2 separate regions of the Homo sapiens genome follow, and region 2 is linked to region 1. The links are contacts of gene promoters, found by promoter capture Hi-C in human tissues and cell types (Jung and others, 2019). All regions are on one chromosome and are shown on one strand. Each heading gives the region's core, a stretch centred on a gene start or on the middle of the fragment in contact. The rest is flanking DNA. Distances are from core to core; before and after follow the strand shown.

Region 1 (7,500 bases), core at 4,339-6,838:
TTAAGAGAATGAAAAGACAAGCCACAGACTGGGAGAATATCTCTGCAAAACTCATATCTGATAAAGGATGATTATCCAAAATATACCAAGAACCCTTAAAGTCAACATTAAAGAGAACAAGCAACCCGGCCGGGCAGGGAGTCACACCTGTCATCCCAGCACAAGCAACCTGGCCGGGTGTGGTGGCTCACACCTGTCGTCCCAGCACTGTGGGAGGCCAGGGTGGGAGGATCACGAGGTCAGGAGATCGAGACCATCCTGGCCCACATGGTGAAACCCCGTCTCTACTAAAAATATAAAAATTAGCTGGGTGTGGTGACACACGCCTGTTATCCCAGCTACTTGGGAGGCTGAGGCAAGAGAATCACCTGAACCAGGGAGTCGGAGGTTGTGGTGAGCCAAGCTCACGCCACTGCTCTCCAGCCTGGTGACGGAGTGAGACTCCGTCTCAAAAAAAAAAAAAAAAGAAAAAGGAAAAAGAAAACAAGCAACACAATTAAAAAGTGGGCATCAGATAAATCTAACAAAGAGATTGAAAGAATTAAAAAGAAAAAAAAAGTGGGCAAAAGATCTGAACAGACACTTCACCAAAGAAGATACAGAGATGTCAAATAAGCACCTGAAAAGATGCTCAGCATCAAACGTTATTAATTAAATTAAAATAACAATGAGATACCACTACACACCCGTTAGGATGACTAAAGTCCCCAAGACAGACAATACCAAGTGCTGACAAGGAGGTGGAGCAACGGGAACTCTCATCCACTGCTGATGAGAAGGCAGAATGGCGCAGCCACTTTGGAAGACAGTTTGGCAGTTTCTTACAAAGCTAAACATACTCTTACTATATGATCTAGCAATTGTGCTTCTAGGTATTTACTTACCCAAGGAGTTGAAAACTTATGCCCACACAAAAACCTGCACATGATGTTGATAGCATCTTTACCCATAATTGCCAAAAAGTTGAAGGAACCAAAGTGTCCTTCAAAAGGCGAATGGGTAGAACAACTGTGGTACATCCAGACAATGGAATATCATTCAGAGACAAAAAGCAATGAGCTGGCCGGGTGCGGTGTCTCATGCCGGTAATCCCAGCACTTTGGGAGGCTGAGGCGGGCGGACCATGTGGTCAGGAGATTGAGACCATCCTGGCTAACACAGTGAAAACCCATCTCTAAAAAAAAAAAAAAAAAAAAACAGCTGGGCATGGTGGCAGGTGCCTGTAGTCCCAGCTACTCGGAGGCTGAGGCAGGAGAATGGCGTGAACCCGGGAGGCGCAGCTTGCAGTGAGCCGAGATCACACCACTGCACTCCAGCCTAGGAGACAGAGCGAGACTCCGTCTCAAAATAAATAAATAAATAAATAAATAAATAAATAAATAAATAAAAGCAAGGAGCTATCAAGCCTTGAAAAGACATACAGGGGCCATAACTGCCTACTACTCAGTGAAAGAAGCTAGTCGGAAAAAGTTAATAGTGTATCGTTGATAGTGGATAAGTCAAAACTTCAGAGACAATGAAAATATCCGTGGTTTCCAGGGGATGGGGAGAGGGAGAGGCAGTGGAGCACGAGATTTTGAGGGCAGGGGATGTATTCCGCATAATACGGTAATGGTGGACACATGACTTGTGCACTTGCCACGACCCACAGAATGTACAACAGACAGAGTGAACCCTCATGTAAACTGTGGGAGTTCGTTAGTAATAATGTATCAATATTGTTCATCAGCTGTAACAATGCACCCACAGTAATGCAAAATGTTCATAACAGGAAACTCTGTGTGTGGGGATGTGTGTGTGGGGGGATACGATCTGTACTATCTGCCCAGTTGTCTGTAAACTTAAAACTGCTCTAAAAAATAAAGTGCATTAATTCCAAAACACCACAACTTCACGTGCAATTTCAACTTGCAACAGCCTGCTTTTAGTCTCCCCGGATCCTTCTGTTACTGTAGCACACGCCGCACCCTTGTGTATTCCATAAACCACACGATACCTGCACTCGCTTTGCTGTTGTTGCTTCAAACTGCCAATTCTCTTTCAAATATTTTTTGAGAGAGAAAACTGTCTTACACAGTCACAGCTGTTTCCATTTCCAGAGCTTATCTTCCCTTAGTCTAGGTCTAGATGTTCATCTCTTATCATCTTCTTCCTGCAGAACTTCCTTTCACATTTCTTTTTTTTTTTTTTTTTGAGACGGAGTCTCCTTCATTGCCCAGGCTGGAGTGCAGTGGCGCCATCTCGGATCACTGCAAGCTCCGCCTCCCGGGTTCACGCCATTCTCCTGCCTCAGCCTCCCGAGTAGCTGGGACTACAGGTGCCCGCCACCACGCCCGGCTAATTTTTTGTATTTTTAGTAGAGACAGGGTTTCACTGTGTTAGCCAGGGGGGTCTCGAACTCCTGACCTCAGGTGATCCACCCGCCTTGGCCTCCCGAAGTGCTGGGATTACAGGCGTGAGCCACCGCGCCCAGCTAATTTTTGTATTTTTAGTAGAGATGGGGTTTCATCACGTTGGCCAGGCTGGTCTTGAACTCCTGACCTCAGGTGATCCAGCCGCCTCGGCCTCCCAAAGTGCTAGGATTACAGGCGTGAACCACCACGCCCGAACATGATTGATTTTTTTTATTGGGAGGTCATCCTTTTTCATGCCTGCTTTTTTTTTTTTTTTTAAGACACGGTATTGCTCTGTCACCAGACTGGAGTGCAGTGGCACGATCTCGGCTCACTGCATCCTCTGACTCCCTGGTTCAAGCGATTCTCCTGCCTCAGCCTCCCGAGTAGCTGGGATTACAGGCACGTGCCACCACGCCCGGCTAATTTTTATATTTTTAGTAGAGACGGGGTTTCACCATGTGGGCCAGGCTGGTCTCGTTCTCCTGACCTCACGATCTGCCACCTCGGCCTCCCAAAGTGCTGGGATGACAGGCGTGAGCCACCGTGCCCGGCCACCCGCTCGTTCTTGACTAGCCCCCGGATCTCGTGAGTACTCTCTGGAGTGTTTTGTTGCGTGCTGGGTTGTGTTCTATTCCTTGACATCGTTTTGAGATGTGTTCTCACAGGCAGTTAAGTCACTTGCAATCATTTGGATCCGTCTGCGCTTTGCTTTTCAGCTTTGTGAGGGTGGGTCCGGAGAAGCCTTTGGTTTCGGGATTACTTTCTCCCCTCGTACCCTTCCATACCCTTCCGAGGACTCTCCAGTGCCTGCCTCTGACAAGGTTTCTCCACTCAGCTGCTGGGAACACGCGATATCCCCAGCCCCGCGCGCACTCCCGGACTCCGCCCCTCTCATCTGGTGGTTCTCGTTTCCGACGCGGCTCCCACGTCTCTCTGCATCTCCGGCACTCGGCCGAGGACGCCGGGGGGAACCCCCTGCGGATGCCCGGAGCTCTCCGTGCAGTTCTCCGCCTCGTGAGTCATGGCTGCCGGGGCCTCTGCACGCGCCAGGTGCGTCTCCCCAGCCCAGCAAGCTCCTGGGGCTGAGTTTCCCATCGCTGCCCTGAGTCTGGGCGCGGCCACTGTCGTCTCACCCGACTCCCCACCCTTCTCTCGGGGACACTGCCCCACGTGGCCTCTTGCCCAGTGTCTGTCAATGGCCTGGGACCCCAGCCCTGCAGCAGCCCCAGGGGAGCGGCCGGGGATCGGGGCGGGGTGCCCAGGACGCGCCCTGATTGGCCCAGTGTTAGCCAATCAAGGCTCTCGCATCCCCATGGTGCTGATTGGTCCGCCTCCCAGGCCTGACCCAATCGGAGCATTCCTAGGAGGAGCGGCCCCAGAGCCCCTGACTCGGGGGTCCCAGAGCCCTCTGCACACCACAGCCCCGGTGTCCCCGTGTGTCCCTGGGTTCTCCCAGCCCTGGTGTCCCCTGAGTCTCTTCTTCACCGTCAGCCCTGGTGTCTCCCGTGTCCCTGCCACACCCTCATCCCTGGTGTCCCCCGTCACCCCATCCCCTCACCTCCTGGGCTCCTGAAGGTCCCATCTTGTGGGCCTCATTCATGGAACCAGGACGGGGCAGGTGGAGGCCTCTGGGGAGTTTGTCCAGAGAATGGAGGAGAAGCAGGGTCATGAGCAGGAGCGGTCTGGGCCACCCCTGCCTGTCCCCCGGGGGGTGCAGCCCGGAAGGAGTCCAGATGGATATGGCCCCGCAGTGCAGAGTCAGCCTCAAACCAGGCTGGTCCCAGGCAGGGTGGGGGCAGGAGGAGCCCCGGAGTGGCCCTGTGTTGGGGGTCGGGGGGCAGGCAGGGGGTCCTGGGGCTCAGAAGCAGAGGAGGTGGGCTGGAGGCCCCAGTGACCAACAGGCCCAGGTGAGTCAGGAGGTGGGGTGGACGGAGCTGCAGGGACAGTGTCAGCGCTGAATGGGATGGAGAGCACAGGGAGCTGGGGCCGGGGGTGAGACCAAGGGGAGCTGGGCTGGGGCTGGGGGTGAGTCCATGGGGAGCTGGGGCCGGGGGCTGGGACTAGTCCATGGGGAGCTGGGCTGGGGCTGGGGGTGAGACCATGGGGAGCTGGGCTGGGGCTGGGACTAGTCCATGGGGAGCTGGGCTGGGGCTGGGACTAGTTCATGGGGAGCTGGGCTGGGGCTGGGGGTGAGTCCATGGGGAGCTGGGCTGGGGCTGGGGGTGAGTCCATGGGGAGCTGGACTGGGGCTGTGGGTGAGTCCATGGGGAGCTGGGGCTGGGGCTGGGACTACTCCATGGGGAGCTGGGGCTGGGGCTGGGACTAGTCCATGGGGAGCTGGGCTGGGGCTGTGGGTGAGTCCATGGGGAGCTGGGCTGGGGCTGGGGGTGAGTCCATGGGGAGCTGGGCTGGGTCTCCTGGGGTTGCACCTGCACTCCTGTCTGCCCTTCCCTCTGCGGATGAAGCTCAGATCCCATGATAAGAAGGCACCTGCAGACCAGGGGACCTGCACGGACAGCCCCAGAGGTGGACATTGAGGAATCGTTGGAGGACTTGGGTCTCATACGGGAGGTGGGGAGCAGGGCCCCTTCCTGGCTGAGGACACTTGGTGCTGTCCCCTCTCAAGGCTGTTTCCCCATCTGACAAAGGGGTCTCATGTGAGCCCCCAACCAAGTGAGTCGAGGAGGGCTGGCCCCACCCCCGTGGATTCGGAGTCCGTAGGAGGGGTGTCACCCGTCATGTCCCCACCCCGTGGGCACCTTCCCGTCTCTTGGAGGGTGGCCCATGGACATGAGTTCCTCACCCCGTGTCCCTCTTGGGGAAACAGGTTTCAGGAGCGACGGGTCTTGTAGCCTGGGGCAGCCAGGCCACCTGGGTGCAGCTATGCCTGAAGGCCTCCTGGCACCGAGACAGGGGCAGGAGCAGATCCCACCAGCGGGAAGGTGGTGGGTTCCAGTGCTGGGATCCACCAGCTGACAGGTGGAGCTGCGAGCCTCCAGTGCTCAGCCCTCGGCGGGGCCTGCCTGGCAGCCCCACACACAGAGGGCATCGGGGTGGCGGGGGCATGTGTTACACGGGGGCCCTGGGTCTGAGTCATCCACTTCCTCCGAGTCTGGATGGGAGGACCCAGCGCCCCTCCTCCGCCCCCTCCTGATCTGGAAGCATAAATGGGGAGGGGAGAGCCCGCTGGGTAGAAGGAACAGGGAGTGGCCAGGGTAAGTCCCTACTCTCAGAGACCCTGACATCAGCGTCACCTGGAGCAGAGTGGCCCAGCCTCAGACTCAGAGCACCAAGACCCAGGCCCGCAGGCCTGGACCCACCCCGGTCCCCCCGTCCCAGCTCCATTCTTCACCCCACAATCTGTAGCCCCCAGCCCTGCCCTGTGAGGCCCGGCCAGGCCCACGATGCTCCTCCTTGCTCCCCAGATGCTGAGCCTGCTGCTGCTGGCGCTGCCCGTCCTGGCGAGCCCGGCCTACGTGGCCCCTGGTGAGTCCCAGCCGGGGTCCACCCTGCCCCTCACCACATTCCACAGATCAGGGCCTGGGTGGGTTCTGGGGAGGCCGGGCTGGCCCCCACACAGGGAAGGGCTGGTCCCAGGCGTGGGGCGGCTTCTTGGTCCTGACCTGGCACCTGCCCCAGCCCCAGGCCAGGCCCTGCAGCAAACGGGCATTGTTGGGGGGCAGGAGGCCCCCAGGAGCAAGTGGCCCTGGCAGGTGAGCCTGAGAGTCCGCGGCCCATACTGGATGCACTTCTGCGGGGGCTCCCTCATCCACCCCCAGTGGGTGCTAACCGCGGCGCACTGCGTGGAACCGTGAGTCTCCTGGGGCCTGGAGGGGTGGGCAAGGGCTGGATGTGAGCCCTGGCTCCCGGGTGCTCCTGGGGGCTGCCCAGGGCCCTGAGTGGGATCCTCCGCTGCCCAGGGACATCAAGGATCTGGCCGCCCTCAGGGTGCAACTGCGGGAGCAGCACCTCTACTACCAGGACCAGCTGCTGCCGGTCAGCAGGATCATCGTGCACCCACAGTTCTACATCATCCAGACCGGGGCGGACATCGCCCTGCTGGAGCTGGAGGAGCCCGTGAACATCTCCAGCCACATCCACACGGTCACGCTGCCCCCTGCCTCGGAGACCTTCCCCCCGGGGATGCCGTGCTGGGTCACTGGCTGGGGCGACGTGGACAATAATGGTGGGTGTTGGGGACAGCGGGAGGCCGGGCCAGGTGGGCACCAAGTCACAGCCACAGGCCAGTCCGTGGGGTGACAGGGTCCCTCAGGGCGGCTCAGGGAGGGGGACTGTGGAGGCCAGGATGGATGGAGCAGGCGGTGGCGAGAGGCAGCAGGTGCCCTGAGCAGAGACGGTGAGTCCAAAGGGCCTGGGCGTCCCCCACCCCAGGGGTTTGGAGAGTCCCTTAGCACCTCCGTGCCTCGGTTTCCCCTTGCCTGAAAGGGTGCATCAAAAGTTTGTACGTCACGGACTTGCTATGTGGAGAGAGAAATCACACGGGGGTCTTGCTGGAAGGAGAGAGACCGGTGCTGGGATGAGACCTGCCTGCCCTCCATCCCTGTGCTACAGACAAGGCAGGGGCCTGGGAATCGGGGTCGTGGCAGTGCTGTGGGGGGCTGGACGAAGCTCACTGTGGCCCTCCACGAGGCACATTTTCACTTCTAGAAGGTCTTGTCCCCATTTTATCCACAATTCAGAGCAAAGCTTTGGGGTACAGCCTGAGCGGCAACCCTGGGCTGTGACCTCTGGGTCACTCAGAAGGGGCCTGAGCCACTGTCCCGCTATTCCGCCCCACACAGCGGGGAAGCTGAGCCCAGCGCCCTGTGTTCCCCTCGGCTAGGGCCAACCGTGGACCATGGGCCTAGCCCAGACGAAAGTCAGCTGAGCCCAGGGGGAGACACGGGTCGGGCTCTGCACCCCCGTGCCATGGAGCCCAGCTTGGCAACCTCCAGGGCCCTCCCCTCCCTTCCCCAGATGGGGCTTAAATGAGGCCAGGGACCCAGGACCAGCCTCAGCGGAGGGGCCTGGACTGCATTCACCGCCCCTTCCCCGGGGCTGCAGGCACAGAACAGCACTGGGCCCATGGTGCCATCTCCCCTGC
Region 2 (6,581 bases), core at 71-2,570, 110 kb after region 1:
ATCTAATATATTTAGCATACTATGAATTGACAATAAACTGATATGAAATATTTAAGTTCACAGTACACATATAAAGCTTCATATTATCGCATATTAAAAAAAAACAGAAAGCAGCTTAGAGCAATTTATAACCTCTAACTAAATTCCTCGGTTTACAAAGTGCTTTGAAAGACCCCAGCTCCCAGTGGCCTAGTCACAGTAGTGTCAGGACCACAAACTGCTGTGATCACAGCGCCGCGTGGATCCCGGAGGCACCAGGCCCCTCAGGGACAGGCAGGCGGGTTCTGTGGGTTTGCATTTAAGGTTTTTGAGGAAAATACCTTGAAACCGTCGGTAGGACTAGATAGGTGACAACGTGTGACAGGAAAGGCTGTCAGGCCAAGCGCAGGCGGGGCTCCCAGCCTCATGATAACGTGTAACAGGAAGGGCTCCCAGCCTCGGTCCTCACGTCGGTGGCACCAGAAGCGAGTGACGACATGTCCGTGGTCAGGAGGAGCGCTGGAGCCAGGGTGCCCAGCAGGAGGTGGCTGTCCCCGCTGAGGTCACCACTGCAGGGGCTGGCCCTTGCAGTAGGGGCACTCAGGTGCGGTGGCCGCACACGGCTCACAGAGGATGTGGTGCTGACAGGGCCGCAGGACAGCACCGTGGGCCCGCTCCCGGCAGGCCACACACTGCTTGGCGCGGAGCTGGAAGATCACCTGCAGGGCCAGAACAATGACGGGCTCAGGAGGCCCCTGCCCAGGCTGGGCCAGCTGGGGAGCCGGAGGGCCTTCCGGGCAGGACTCAGCATCTCAGGCCGCCCGGCCACCAGCTACAGAGACAGGGTCAGGGAGACGCCCCAGCCAGGGCCACCTCAGGGAGAAGGCAGCTGCGGGGTCAGGGGGTATGCTCTGTCTTAAGAGCCCTGGGCAGAGGACAGCCTCCTGGGGCCACCACAGACACGGCAGTGGCCAGACAGGCCAGGCCCCTGAGGGCAGCTGGGTGCCCAGGATGTGGGCTACGCAGGACCCTCTGTCCTATAGCAGCGAGTCCAAGAGCCCACCCTTAGCAGGCGAGGTGAGGAGGGGCACGCCGAAGTGGAGGGGTCATGTGTGAGGGTCACAGCTGTGAACAGGGAGGGATGGGGCCACGGGGAGCAGTGTGGCATTCGCTGACAAGAGGGAGGGGTGAAAGGGCAAGGGCCAGCCTGACAGGAAAGGCGGCTCCCAGGGAGACAGGCAAGGAGGCCACAGGGGGCTGTGCTGGGGTGGGGCACCGTCTCCTCCTCCCTAGGCCCGGAGCAGACCCTGGGGCAGGGGAGGAAGGGGACACCGCACCAGCCAGGGCCCTCCCCAGACAGGGACAGCAGCCCTGCAGGCAGGCTGGCCCCTCACCCTGCCCAGAGCAGGACTCACGCCGTCCACCGCCTCCAGGTCCAGGCGCAGCTGACTCTGCAGCGAGTGCAGCTTCGGCAGGGGAATGGTGCCGATGTCCCCACAGCCCCGCAGCCCCGGCAGTGTGGAGGCTACGCCCAGGCCCTCCAGCTCCTCCTGCAGCTGCTTCACCTGTGCCTCCACCTCCTCCTTCTTCTGCAGCGCCAGCTGCCGGTCGCTATCGGCCACACGGGCACGCTCCTTGGCCTCCTGCGCCTCTCGCTGCCAGGCATCGCAGACCTGAAACCCAGGGCCCGTCTCAGCACCCCCCACCTCACCTGTGCCACCTGCAGACCCTCTTGCCTGTGTCACCAGCGATCCTCCCCTCCCCTCCCCAGCATCAGCTGTGGCCCCCTCACCTGAGACCCCTGCGGCCCTCCCTCCCTCCCTCCCTCCCTCCCTCCCCCTCCCGTCTCACCCCCCACACGCTCACCTGAGTCACCTGCGGCCCTCCCTCCCTCCCCTCCCATCTCACCCCCACACGCTCACCTGAGTCCCCTGCGGCCCTCCCTCCCCCTCACCTGTCTGGCCCCCCCACACACTCACCTGCTTCACCTGCTGCCAGGACTCCTCCCACTGCCGGATCTTCCTCTTGGCCTCGTCCAGCTGCCGCCTGACCCGGGCCAGCTCAGCTCCGTTTGGACTTGCACTCGAAGAGGATGGGGGGCCGGCACTCAGGATGGGGGAGGGGCTGGGGGAGAAGCTGCCGGAAACAAAGTCCCAGATGCTCCCGGGGACACCGTTCAAACCTGAGTGTGAAACGGTCGATGACGGCCCAGCCCTGCTGTGCTCGCGGCCTGGTGGGATTGGTGGGTGCTATGCCCCAGGCCCCACCGCTACGTGGGCACCCTCTGGGGCTCACCTGCCCTGGCAGCAGGGGTGCAGCCACGCCTGCCCCTTGCCCCACTCCTGGACCCCACCAGGCTCAGGAAGAGGCGCTGACAGTGACACCTGCCCCGGCCGGTCTCCCCACCAGATCTACGCCTTCCTGGCCACCTGAGGAGTCTAAACAGAGAGGAATTAAATTCAAGTTCCTGGGACCACACCATGAGGTGGGAGGGGCAGTGGTTCTCAGACTCCACTCCCAGGAACCCCTCACACACTGAGACTCTCAAAGACCCCACAGAGCTGTGTCCATGTGGTGACTGCCAATGTCTATGCAGCTTTAGAGACTATGACTGAAATAGTTTAAATGTTACTTAAAAAAAACAGGCCGGGCGCGGTGGCTCACGCCTGTAATCCCAGCACTTTGGGAGGCCGAGGCGGGTGGATCATGAGGTCAGGAGATCGAGACCATCCTGGCTAACAAGGTGAAACCCCGTCTCTACTAAAAATACAAAAAATTAGCCAGGCGTGGTGGCGGGCGCCTGTAGTCCCAGCTACTCGGGAGGCTGAGGCAGGAGAATGGCGTGAACCCGGGAAGCGGAGCTTGCAGTGAGCCGAGATTGCGCCACTGCAGTCCGCAGTCCGGCCTGGGCGACAGAATGAGACTCCGTCTCAAAAAAAAAAAAAAAAAAAAAAAAAAACAGGCCTGTCATCCCAGCACTTTGGGAGGTCGAGGCCAGCAGATCACTTGAGGTCAGGAGTTTGAGACCAGTATGGCCAACATGGTGAAACTCCATCTCTACTAAAAATACAAAAATTAGCCTGGCGTGGTAGCAGGTACCTGTGATCCCAGCTACTCGGGAGGCTGAGACATGACAATCATTTTAACCCGGAAGGCAGAGGCTGCAGTGAGCCAAGATTGCTGGAGCCTGGACGACAGAGTGAAACTTTGTTTTAAAAAAATAAAAACTTTTAAAATTTTGTATTTTTTTGTAGACTCAGGAGTCTCACTATGGTGCCTAGCCTGGTCTTGAACCCCTGGCCTCAAGTGACCACCCACCTCGACCTCCCAAAGTGCTGGGATTACAGGCTTGAGCCACTATGTTGGCCCAAAGTATTAGTTTTTTTTTTTTTTTTTTTTTTTTTTTTGAAATGGAGTCTAGCTCTATCGCCAGGCTGGATTGGAGTGCAGTGGCACAATCTCAGCTCACTGCGACCTCCGACTCCCGGGTTCAAGCGATTCTCCTGCCTTAGCCTCCCAAGTAGCTGGGATTACAGGCATGTGCCACCACGCCCGCCTAATTTTTGTATTTTTAGTAGAGACGGGGTTTCACCATGTTGGCCAGGATGGTCTCGATATCCTGACGTCGTGATCCGCCCACCTCGGCGCCCCAAGTGCTGGGATGACAGGCGTGAGCCACCACGCCGGGCCTTTTTCTCTTTTTTTTTTTTGAGATGGAGTTTCACTCTTGTTGCCCAGGCTGGAGCATAATGGCACAATCTCAGCTCACTGCAAACTCCACCTCCCAGGTTCAAGCAATTCTCCTGCCTCAGCCTCCCCAGTAGCTGGGGTTACAGGCATGCACCACCACACCCGGCTAATTTTGTATTTTTAGTAGAGATGGGGTTTCTCCATGTTGGTCAGGCTGGTCTTGAACTCCCAATCTCAGGTGATCCGCCTGCCTCAGCCTCCCAAAGTGCTGGGATTACAGGTGTGAGCCACTGCACCCGACCAAGTGTTAGTTCTTTTACAACGTAACAAATAGCCGGGCACGGTGGCTCACTGTCATCCCACACTTTGGGAAGCCAAGGCAGGCAGATCACGAGGTCAGGAGTTTGAGACCGGCCCGGCCAGCGTGATGAAACGCCATCTCTACTAAAAATACAAAAACTAGCTGGGCGTGGTGGCGCCCGCCTGTAGTCCCAGCTACTTGGGTGGCTGAGGCAGGAGAATTGCTTGAACCTGGGAGGCGGAGGTTGCGGCGAGCCGAGATCGTACCATTGCAGTCCAACCTGGGCGACAGAGCGAGACTCGGTCTGCGGCGTGGGGGAACCTGTGAGCAGCAGGTCATGTGGTTTGCCACCACAGATAGGGCACAAGGTTCCGTGTGAGGCCCCTCAGTCAGGACGGCATCTGGGAGGGAGCCCCACGGAGGCTTCACGGCAACGCCAGCATGGAGGGAGCCGGCACTCACCTAGGGGGCTGTAGGATGAGGCTGCAGAGCCCAGTGTGCCCGGCTCTGAACGCAGGGGTGGCGGCTGCTGGGGAGGCGTCATGGCTGAGGAGCCCACCGGCCCTGGGAGGGGCTGGGACAGCGAACCGAGCGGCGAGGTGGACGCAGAGGATGGCGAGTGTAGCGATGGTGCTCTGGGCAGGGAGCCGGGGATGGCGACAGGTGCAGAGCCGGCCAGCGACCTGGGACCTGGCGGGGGCGGACCAGTCAGCGAAGGGAGTACCGCCAGGCCTCTGCCCAAACATCTGCCATGGGCGGCAGCCGTGGAAGACGGACCCTGCAGGTGGTGGTGGTGGGGATATGGGGGGTGGGAATATAGGGGCCAGGCCAGCCACCACCATCTATGTGTTTGGAGCCACAGCGCCCCCGGTGGCCATGTCCAACACAGCTGGGCAAGCCATGGGCTCAAAGGGATTCCAACCAGAGGTGGGGAGACGGGGGTTTAACATGGGCCCCCCCCAAAGAGGCCGGACACCCACCAGGCCCTGCCGGCCAACTAAGCCATTGGCACGGTCCTCCCAGCACTTGTCCAGGCCCCCTGAAATGGTTTACTTTCTTTTAAAAGAAAGAAAAGATACACTTTTAGGCTGAATGAAAAGATGTTGTATACGATGTTAAGATACATTTGTATGGGGCCGGGCGCACTGGCTCACGCCTGTAATCCCAGCACTTTGGGAGGCCAAGGCGGGCAGATCACGGGGTCAGGAGATGGAGACCATCCTGGCTAACATGGTGAAACCCCGTCTCTATTAAAAATACAAAAAATTAGCTGGGCGTGGTGGCGGGCACCTGTAGTCCCAGCTACTCCGGAGGCTGAGGCAGGAGAATGGCGTGAACCCGGGAGGTGGAGCTTGCAGTGAGCGGAGATCGCGCCACTGCACTCCAGCCTGGGCGACAGAGCGAGGCTCTGTCTCAAAAAAAAAAAAAAAAAAAAAGATACATTTGTATGGATGTCAATCTTTTGTCTACAATGTGAATACATTTATCCTTCGGGGACCATCAAGACTTTCAGGAAAGGCCCCGCCTGTCTCTGCGCGGCCACTTTGCTGGGACAAAGGTCAACTGAAGAAGTGGGCAGGCCCGAGGCAGGAGAGATGCTGAGGAGTCCATGTGCAGGGGAGGGAAAGGGAGAGGCAGTCAGGGAGAGGAGGAGGAGGTACCGCCAGAAGGGGATCCTCCCGCTCCGAAAACCAGACACCGGGTCTTGCCCTGTGGTCCAGGCAGGAGTGCAGTGGTGCAACCTCAGCTCACTGCAGCCTTGACCTCCCCGGGCTCAAGCGATCCTCCGGCCACAGCACTTGGCTGTTCAGCGGCTGGAGGAGCAGGGCCCCAGGTCCTCCCCACCCTCACCTGCTGCTCCCAGGTCGTGGCCGTCTTGCTCTTCCAGGTCCTTCTCTAGGGATGCAATATTCACATTGCTAAGATGCAGGTCTAACGCAGAACCTGTCAACAGAGCCCCCCATCATCCACAGCCCACCCAGCGCTGCAGAGCTCAGGAAGCCTAGCTGAGGAGGACGACCGTCCCACCTGGGCTTAGAGTGAGACCAAGGGCAGAAGGCGTGGGAGTTGCTGGGGCAGCCAGGGAAGGACACCCCCAGCCCGTCCTCGCAGCCCCCCACAGGCAGTGTGAGGCTTGGCTGTTCCTCCGGCAAAACGAGCGTGCTCAGGTGGGACGCCCCGCACCACAGACCAGCAGCTGGGTCCTCGCCTCTGACACGCTGCTGCTGCCCCTCAGAGTTTAAATACCTAAGTGTGTGTTAGCATCTGTCCACGTGTGCACATTCGACTGTTTAAAAAACTTTCCAGGGCCGGGTGCGGTGGCTCACACCTGTAATCCCAGCACTTTGGGAGGCCGAGGTGGGCAGATCACAAGGTCAGGAGATCGAGACCATCCTGGCTAACACGGTGAAACCCCGTCTCAACCAAAAAAAAAAAAATACAAAAAATTAGCCAGGCGTGGTGGCGGGTGCCTGTAGTCCCAGCTACTCGGGAGGCTGAGGCGGAAGAATGGTGTGAACCCCAGAGGCGGAGCTTGCAGTGAGCCGAGATCGTGCCACTGCCCTCCAGCCTGGACGACAGAGCAAGATTCCATCTCAAAAAAAACAAAAAC

Evidence for each region. The method cuts DNA at HindIII sites, captures the fragments that hold promoters and counts their contacts. A contact is called where the count stands out against the background at its distance.
Region 2: a contact is called between a fragment that was not itself captured here and the fragment with the promoter of TPSD1 in region 1, in 2 of the 25 tissues and cell types used here (liver and lymphoblastoid cells).

The regions. Positions count from the first base shown.
Region 1 is chr16:1,250,481-1,257,980 of GRCh38, forward strand. TPSD1 (tryptase delta 1) reads left to right here and starts at 5,589. Exons shown (of 5, transcript NM_012217.3): 1 at 5,589-5,882; 2 at 6,036-6,207; 3 at 6,317-6,582. The coding sequence starts at 5,801. The HindIII fragment of the contact is 12,300 bases long and covers 1-7,500 here.
Region 2 is chr16:1,365,698-1,372,278 of GRCh38, forward strand. It overlaps UNKL (unk like zinc finger), which reads right to left. Exons shown (of 15, transcript NM_001372107.1): 11 at 5,822-5,914; 12 at 4,433-4,660; 13 at 1,959-2,161; 14 at 1,395-1,652; 15 at 1-698. The coding sequence ends at 543. It also overlaps the pseudogene TJP1P1. Among named protein-coding and RNA genes, the nearest start is that of GNPTG, 17 kb to the left of the region's middle. The HindIII fragment of the contact is 7,351 bases long and covers 1-4,996 here.